Linked DNA regions of Homo sapiens: regions 1 and 2 are each linked to region 3. The links are contacts of gene promoters, found by promoter capture Hi-C in blood cells and fetal thymus (Javierre and others, 2016). All regions are on one chromosome and are shown on one strand. Each heading gives the region's core, a stretch centred on a gene start or on the middle of the fragment in contact. The rest is flanking DNA. Distances are from core to core; before and after follow the strand shown. Region 1 overlaps KIFAP3 (kinesin associated protein 3). Region 2 overlaps SCYL3 (SCY1 like pseudokinase 3). Region 3 holds the start of COP1 (COP1 E3 ubiquitin ligase).

The links. The method cuts DNA at HindIII sites, captures the fragments that hold promoters and counts their contacts. A CHiCAGO score of 5 or more calls a contact.
Region 1: a fragment that was not itself captured here is called in contact with the fragment with the promoter of COP1 in region 3 in 1 of 17 cell types (non-activated CD4 T cells); the score reaches 7.1 in non-activated CD4 T cells.
Region 2: a fragment that was not itself captured here is called in contact with the fragment with the promoter of COP1 in region 3 in 1 of 17 cell types (naive B cells); the score reaches 6.0 in naive B cells.

What each region holds. Positions count from the first base shown.
Region 1 is chr1:170,068,687-170,071,564 of GRCh38, forward strand. All of the region lies in intron 1 of KIFAP3 (kinesin associated protein 3), which reads right to left. Among named protein-coding and RNA genes, the nearest start is that of KIFAP3, 4.6 kb to the right of the region's middle. The HindIII fragment of the contact is 677 bases long and covers 1,045-1,721 here.
Region 2 is chr1:169,885,422-169,888,286 of GRCh38, forward strand. The region is part of intron 2 of SCYL3 (SCY1 like pseudokinase 3); the gene reads right to left. Among named protein-coding and RNA genes, the nearest start is that of SCYL3, 7.0 kb to the right of the region's middle. The HindIII fragment of the contact is 683 bases long and covers 1,178-1,860 here.
Region 3 is chr1:176,205,861-176,208,589 of GRCh38, forward strand. It overlaps COP1 (COP1 E3 ubiquitin ligase), which reads right to left and starts at 1,426. Exons shown (of 20, transcript NM_022457.7): 1 at 712-1,426. The coding sequence starts at 1,118. It overlaps COP1-DT (COP1 divergent transcript), which reads left to right and starts at 1,805. Exons shown (of 5, transcript NR_185981.1): 1 at 1,805-2,011. RefSeq lists silencers at 864-1,223, 1,254-1,463 and an enhancer at 1,964-2,033. The HindIII fragment of the contact is 7,879 bases long and covers 284-2,729 here.

The DNA.
Region 1 (2,878 bases), core at 133-2,632, 6.1 Mb before region 3:
GACCAAAGACAAACTTACACATCCAAGAAGCTCAATGAAATTCAAAGATAAACTCAAACAGATCCACAATAAGACACTCTATACTGACGCTCTATTTAAAAAAATAAATAAAAGATTTTGAATTAATAACCTAATTTTACACCTTAAGGGGCTAGAAAAAGAAGAGCAAACAAAACCCCAAGCTAGCAGAAGGAAATAATAAAAAGCAGCAACAGAGACTAGAAAAAGAATAGAGAAAATGAAACCAAAGGTTAGTTCTTTGAAAAGATCAACAAACATTTTTGGAAAACTTTTAGTTAGACTGACTAAAAAAGAAAAGAAGAGACTCAAATTACTAAAATCAGAAATGAAAGTGGGACATTACTGCTGCTCTTTTGATGATTAAAAAATTACAAGAGAATAATATGAACACCAACAAATTGGATAACCTACATGAAAAAGAATAATTCCTAGAAACACACAAACTACCAAAACTGACTCAAAAGACACAGAAAATCTGAACAGAATTAGAAGTAAGGTGATTGAATCAGTAATCATAAACCTTTCAACAAGTCCAGTACCAGATGGCTTCACTGGTGAATTCTACCAAGCATTTAAAGACAAATTAACATAAATACCCCTCAAACTCTTCCAAAAGATATAACAGTAGAGGAAACACTTCCTAATTCATTCCATGAGGCCACCATTACCCTGATACCAAAGCAAGACAAAGACACTACAGGAAAACCTTTAGACCAATACCCTTTATGAATGTCGATGTGAAAATCCTCAAAATACTAGCAAACAGAATACAGGAGTATATTAAAAGGACCACGCAACATGGCCACATGGGCATTTCAATACAATACACCACATTAATGGAATGAAGAAAAAAAGTACATGATTATCTCAATCGATGCAGAAAAAAGCATCTGACAAAACCCAACATCTTTTCATGATAAAAGTACTTGATAAATTAGGAATAGAAGAAAAGTCCCTTAACATAATAAAGGGCATATATGAAAAATCTACAGCCAATATCATACTCAATGGTGAAAGAATGAAAGCTTTCCCCCTAAGATCAGGAACAAGACAAGAATGTTTATCCACTTTCCTGACTTCTATTCAACATAGTACTGGAAATTCTAGCCAGAGCAATGAGGCATGGGAAAAAAAAATAAAAAGGCATCCAGATTGAAAAAGAAGAAGTAAAATTATTTCTATCTGCAGAAGACATAATCTTATATATAGAAAATTCTAAAAATGGCACAAAAAACTGGCTAGAGCTAATAAATTCAGCAAAGTTGGAGAATAGATCAGAACACACCAAAAAAATCCACTGTTTTTCTACATATTGGAGCTGAAAAATATGAAAAGGAAATTTAGAAAACTTCATTTCCAATAGCATCAAAAAGAATAAAATACTCAGGAGTAAACGTAACCAAGGAACAACTGTATACTGAAAACAAAAAGTTGCTGAAAGAAATTAATATGAACTAAATGAAAAGAAATCACATGTTCATGGACTGAAGGACTTAATATTGTTAAGATGGCAATATTCCCCAAAGTGATCTATAGATTCATTATATTCCCAAAGTTTCAATAGCTTTTTTTGCAGAAATGAAAAAGCCAACCCTAAAATTCAAATGGAAATATAAGGAACCCTAAATAGCTGAAACAACCTTGAAAAAGAACAACAAAGTTGGAGGACTCACACTTCTGGATTTCAAAACTCACTACAAAGCTTCAGTAATCAAAACAGTGAGGTACTAGCACACGGACAGATAGATCAATGAAATATAATTGAGAGTGCAGGAATAAACCCCAACATTTTTGGTCATTTAATTTTCAAAAAAATTGCCCAAACCATTCATGGAGGAAAAGAACAGTCAATTGTTCTTTTCTGACATTTGTTCTGACAAATGATGTCAGAACAACTAGATAGTCACATATAAAAGAATGAAGATGGACCCTTGCCATATACCATAGACAATAACTAACTCGAGATGGATCAAGGATATTAAATGTAAAAGCTAAAACTGTAAAACTCTTAGAAGAAAACAGAGGGACAAACCTTCATGACCTTGGATTTAGCAGTGGTTTCTTAAATAACGATGCCAAAAGCATGAGCAACAAAAGAATAAATTAGACTTCACCAAAATTAAAAATGTTTGCATATGAAAGTTTTACATACCAAGATAGTGCAAAGAAAACCCACAGAATGGGACAAAGTATCTGTAAATCATGTATCTGACAAGGTTCTATTACAAAGAACTCCTTTTCCCAAAGAATAAAGACAAATGGCCAAGAAGCACATGAAAAGCTCAATGTCATTAGTAATTAGGGAAAGGCAAATCAATACCAAAATAAGATACCATTTGATATCCACTAGTATAGTAATAATTACAGAACAGAAAATAACAGGTGTTAGTGAGGATACGGAAAACTGAATTCTTATACATTGCTGGTGGGAATGTAAAATGGTGCAGTCACTAGGGAAAACACTTTAGTGGTTCCTCAATGAATTAAACATAGAATTACCATATGGTCTGGCAATTCCAGGCCTAGGTATACACCAAAAGATACAAAACAAGTGTTCAAACAAAAACTTGTACAGTAATGTTCACAGCAGCTTTATTCCCAATAGCCAATAGGTAGAAACAACCCAAATGTCCACCACCAGATGAGCAATAAACAAACAAAATGTGGTATATCCATAAAATGGAATACTGAATTAGTCAATTTTATGTTGCTATAACACAATACCTGAGACTAGGTAATTTATAAGGAAAAGGGGTTTATTTAGCTTACAGTTCCGCAGGCTGGGAAGTTCAAGGGCATGACTCTGGCTTCCAGTGAGGGCTTTTGTGCTTCATTATAACACAGTGGACAAGATCAA
Region 2 (2,865 bases), core at 269-2,768, 6.3 Mb before region 3:
GCATTACAGCCCAAATCCACCTGCAGGCTTTTAGATGAGACAAAGCCATAATTTCACGCTGTTAAATATGTTAAGTAAACAAAATAACCAAGATGCCTAAACTAGAGAACAAAGATCTTCAGGGAAAAATATTATTCCTTTTTCTCTGAAGATGTAAATCTAAGACAAAATGCAGATGCTTTTTTTTTTGTAAATGTCCACTATCTGAAGGTTAGATCATAAACTAACAATAAAATGCAGAAAGAGAAAGGAATAAAAATTCCATTCTGTAGAGCTTGCATTTGAGGTACTGATAAAACTTTTAGGTGGAAATGTTCAATAGGTAAGTGAAAATATAGATCTGGAGCTCAGACTAGAGATTTTGGCAGATAATTAGTTTAGAATGGCAGGTTGGATGGTTATTAACATCCAAGGAAAAAGGAGAGCGTGAAGTCTGCAAGGTGTGGTGGGGAGCAAGTAGCTGGCCATTCCATCTGGTGGGTCCATCATACCTGAGGCATGGGGGATACTTCTGAAGTTCTTCTGAGTGGATAGTGCCCAGAAGCCACGTAAGAGCACTGGATTCTGATTATGAAGGGCAAAAAATAATTTCTTAAAAAGTCAACCATGGGCCAGGTACGGTGGCTCATGCCTGTAATCCCAGCACTTTGAGAGGCTGAGGAAGGCGGATCACGAGGTCGAGAGGTAGAGGCTATCCTGGCCAACATGGTGAAACCCCACCTCTACTAAAAATTCAAAAATGAGCTGGGTGTGTCGGCGCGTGCCTGTAATCCCAGCTACGTGGGATGCTGAGGCAGGAGAATCACTTCAACCCGGGAGGCAGAGGTTGCAGTGAGCCAAGATCGAACCACTGCACTCTAGCCTGGGAAACAGAGTGAGACTACATCTCAAAAAAAAAAGTCAGTATGAGAGAGGAGAACAGCTTTCTCCAATTAGAATGCAAGCTCTTTTGGGCATAGCCATCATCTCTTCCATTTCTTGTTATGCCCACACAATGTGCATTCTTAAATAACATTGACTAACCCTTCCACAACAGCCCAAATTCATTATGGGGAAGAGCATAATGACTCCAACAATACTAAATAGAGCACTTATATAGCATCTACATACCACTCTTAGAGTCCAATGTGATTCCTGGCATAAAGACACTCAAGAATCATTTTTATAAGCTTTAATAAGCTTACCACAAAGCCCTAACTAAACACTTAGATTACAGCAAACTACAGCAACCAAATTCGGGCTTAGAATTTATCACTGTTTATAGGCTTACATATATGAGTCATCATCATCAGTTAGCAAATTATACTGTTAATTATAGCTGATGAATTCAATGTAAAATGAGATGGTCAGATAGAACTAAGTATTTCTCACATTATTTTGTGGCCAGAGCTTATACCTGCATTTCATCTTGGTGTATACTAGGATTGTTGTTTTTTACTTGTAACAGTGAAGAAAGTGTATATTGTTATCCAGTAACAGAAAACACTATATATCTGCTTGAAATAATCGTTAAAACTACCAAAGGTGTGACCAACAACCCAAACTCTAGAGAAAGTGAGGCAAGCTAAATATATTGTTTTAGTATTTCAGATACCTAGGACATCAAATTCCTAAAATCTAGCACATCGAATGCCATACATTTCTCAAGTGCTATGACCTAGTTTTTTAAGATTATGAGAAACATTCTGAGAATCTAAAGTTATCACTTTGTTGCAATTTCAAATTTCCCAAATTCATATATGAGGTTTTCAAAGCCACAGAATGGCTTAACAAGAGACAAAGATGAACTATGTGCAAAGACTCAGACATGGCTTAAAAGGGTATCTATGAATATTAAGGGGGAATAAGTCTTCCCTCTCAAGCTTCGCAATTCCTTCAGCACAGAAGTCCTCAAAAATGGAGAGTGGTCTTGCTGTTTTTTCCTTTAAAAACTCGATCTAGGTTATTCAATTTTCTTGGTACGTGCACCATAAAGTGTAACACAATTTTAAAAAAATCTTATAAAGAAAAAAATACTAAGAAAGATAAGTCTCTAGTACCTCGCCGATAATAGTTTATTAAAAAAAATGCACAATCTTATTAGATGAAAATAACAGGAGGCATGTTAGACATTAACTGTAAGAACAAGAAAGCGAAGTAAGGCATTTTGTCTTTTGTAAAATCACAATAAAAAATTCTTAACAATACCTAGATGATGTAAAAAAAGAGTCAAAAATGTGGTTCTACCAAAAAGCAAAATTACCTAGCAAGAAAACAGCCAGCTATATACTTTTTACCACCACGCATCTCGAGAGAACTGTTACCCATCTTTTTCTTTAGGAACCATCTTATAACAATTTCATGCTTGATCAAAAATACAACATCAAATAAATTACTGTTGTGAAGACCAAAATTCCATTACTAATATAATCCTTTATAATCATTTTAAAAAAATAAAAACAATTTAGAGTCCTATGAAACAGACATCAATGTTCCATACCTGTTGATAACTAAGGGACTCAAGGTAATAGAGATTATAATTCTAACAAAATCAAGATATCAAGTTCAACTTGAAAATAGCATGCCTACCAGAATAAACACTGGAGAATTAATTTACTAATACAATTACATTTTCCATTTTAGAAGATGATATATCTGAATTCCTAAATTTCCAAAGTGCTAGCTATCCAAAGAAGCATCAACTAATGCCTTCATTTTCCCTAATTCAAAAAGACACTTGGGGTTATTTTATTGACTTACATTCCACAGTAAAATCATTTTTTCTGATAAGAGGCCAGGATCTCCTGAGTGTGTCAGACAGCATGCTAATGCACTGGCACCCTCTGCCTGGAGCAACAATTATAAGGCATGAACTACAAGGATCTT
Region 3 (2,729 bases), core at 176-2,675:
TCTGACACAGGGATGTTATTTAACAAACGTGGTTCTCTCTTTTCAAGACACTTGGTGGAGAAGTGAAAAATCTGTTAACAGACTTTGACTACAGTCGTCTCAACAGCCGATTCCTAAGTGGCCCATCCTTTGAAATGGAAGAAGATATTTACACATACATACGATAGGTACTTACATTATTATAAAAAGCATGTCTTTATAAGACATCCATGCTTATGTTTACAGCATCATCTACCATACTTCAAATAAATTTTGACCAACTCCACCCCTCTGCATCCGAGGAAGCTTAGTCCTCTCCATTTGCAAATTTCATTCATCTCAACAAGGACTCCTGATTGACTGAGTGTTCAATTCATCAGAGAGGCAAAAATTTTAAGACTCAACCTCTCTGCCAACTTTGTTATCCAAAACCATTTATTTGACCTTCCACCTCTTCCCTCGTCATTCGTTAAACTCCCTTCACTTCCTCCTCAGCAACACTTACCTACCTCTTTATTATCCCCACCCTGCCTCGCTACTCCAACATTCCTTCACCCCACCAACCAGGAGCTCGAATGCCTGCAAACGCTCGATTCCCTCTGCAGACACCACCACAGCACCAGTATCCCAAGCTCTCCAACAAGCCACCCCCACACCAGACCCCCCGCCCCCAAGCCTAAGCGGCAGAAACTCATAATTTAGGGACAAGGAGGGAGTGCTCTTCAAACCCACCATACGAAGTCGTTGCTTTTGTCCTCGTAGGAGTTGATGAGCCCGTTGCAGAGGGGGGCGAGGAGAGGTCGCTTCCTGCTGCCGCTGCCTAGGCTGGAGCTGCTGCCTCCTACGCCGGCGCTGGGCCTGGCCGCGCAGCTGTGCCGGGACAGGCCCGTGGACACCGCCCCGCCGCCGCTACCCGATACGGCGGGCGCCACCAACACAGGCCGCACCGGGCCCCCGAGGCCGCCCGAGCCGGCGGCCTGGGCCACCCCGCCGGACACCAGCGCTGCCGCCGAAACCGCCACGGAAGGCGGCGACGGGGAAGAGGATAAAGACGAGGAGGCGGAAGTCACCGAGGAGGCCGCCGAGGACCCGGGGCTTGTCCCAGCGGAGCCCGACCCGGCCTGGCGGCTACCAGACATCGTGACTCCCTCCCCTCCAGCCGGGCGCTCGGAGGAGAGGGACCGCGACCTCGACCCTCCGCCGCCTCCCCTCCCCTCAGCCTCAGTGCATCCTGAGGACGCCCGCCGAGCCGGAGGTGGGGCTGAGGAACAATAAAGTTGCGTTTTTTTTTAAGGCAGCCACACAACAGCGTCCCACGGGAGGGGGCGGAGGAAACTAAAAAAGCGGAGTAGAAGGCACTACCGCTGTCGAGGCCGCCGCCGCCACCGCGGTCCCTGTAGCAGCCAACCCCGGCGCGCCGTGGCCGGCCGTGCGCGCGCGCGCGAGCGGCGGAAGAGGCGGGCGTGGCGGGGGATACAACTGGGGACGCAGCGGGGCTGCGCTCAGACGCTCAGGGCGCGCCCTCGGGGTCGGGGCTCCCTGGCGAAGGGAGTCTGTCTGTCCCAAGCCGCTTTCGTTCCAGAAAACGTGCCAGAGGGCAGGCCGTCTTAATACAGTGAAAGAATTGAGGAGACTGGAATGAATGGTATAGGTGGTGGGGTGGTTTGAAAGACGGGAACGTAGCGGGCGGAAACTCTCGAAAAGCGACTGCGCAGGCGCGCGCCGGGCGCGGACGCTCACGGGTCACCCAGGGTATCCGCCCCAAGCGGAGAATATCGGCGCAAGCGCGGAGTAGCCGTGTCACGCATGCGTGCGAACGCACCACATTCCGGAACGGGAAGAAGGAGCTGTCTCTCTCTTCTGAGGGGTAGGCAGGTGCTTCCGAATCGCGGAATGTAGGTGCTCATAAGCTGGAGACCCACGGAAAGAACCTAGAAGCTCCGAGCGGTTGCAGACAGCACTGCATTGAGCCAACGACTCCTGCTCTACTGATGGTGATTCCACAGCTTTGTGAGGAATAAGTTAAGATGAAGTCAGTGAAGTTTTCTGCGAATTGCAAACATTGTAGCAAGTGTTACCAATTTTATTAGTTCGACCACGACTTCACTCCTATATTTTGAAAAGCTGTTTGCCAAATTGAACATAACAATAATGGGAAAACAGATTTTGCTCAATCAGACCCAGCTCAGTCGGAACCTAGGTTTATTGTGGATCTGATATAATTCTAGCACAAAACAAGGAAACCTAGCATTTAATACCACCAGAAAATATACAATTTCTGGTAGGCTTTTTTAGAATATTGAAAATTGATTATAGGCGGGCGCGGTGGCTCATGCCTGTCATCGCAGCACCTTGGGAGGCCTAGGGGGTCGGATCACCTGAGCCTGGAGGTGAGGATCAGGCTGAACCTGAGGTTAGAGACCAGCCTGGGCAAGATAGCGAAACCCCGTCTCTACAAAAAGTACAAAAAATTAGCTGGGCATGGTGGCAGCAGGCCTGTAGTCCCAGCTACTCGGGAGGCTGACATGGGAGGATTGCTTGAGCTGGGGAGGTTGAGGCTGTAGGGAGCGGAGATCCCTACACTCCAGCCTGTGAGACAGAGACCCTGTCTCAAAAAAAAAAATTTTTTTCATTTGCCGCATTCTAAGGGGTGGGAGTTAGAAACAACTGTGTGATTTTATCCTTTTCAATTCTATCATTCTATGATTCTTATATATTTATTTGGGAATAAAGTGTGAAAATACTCATGA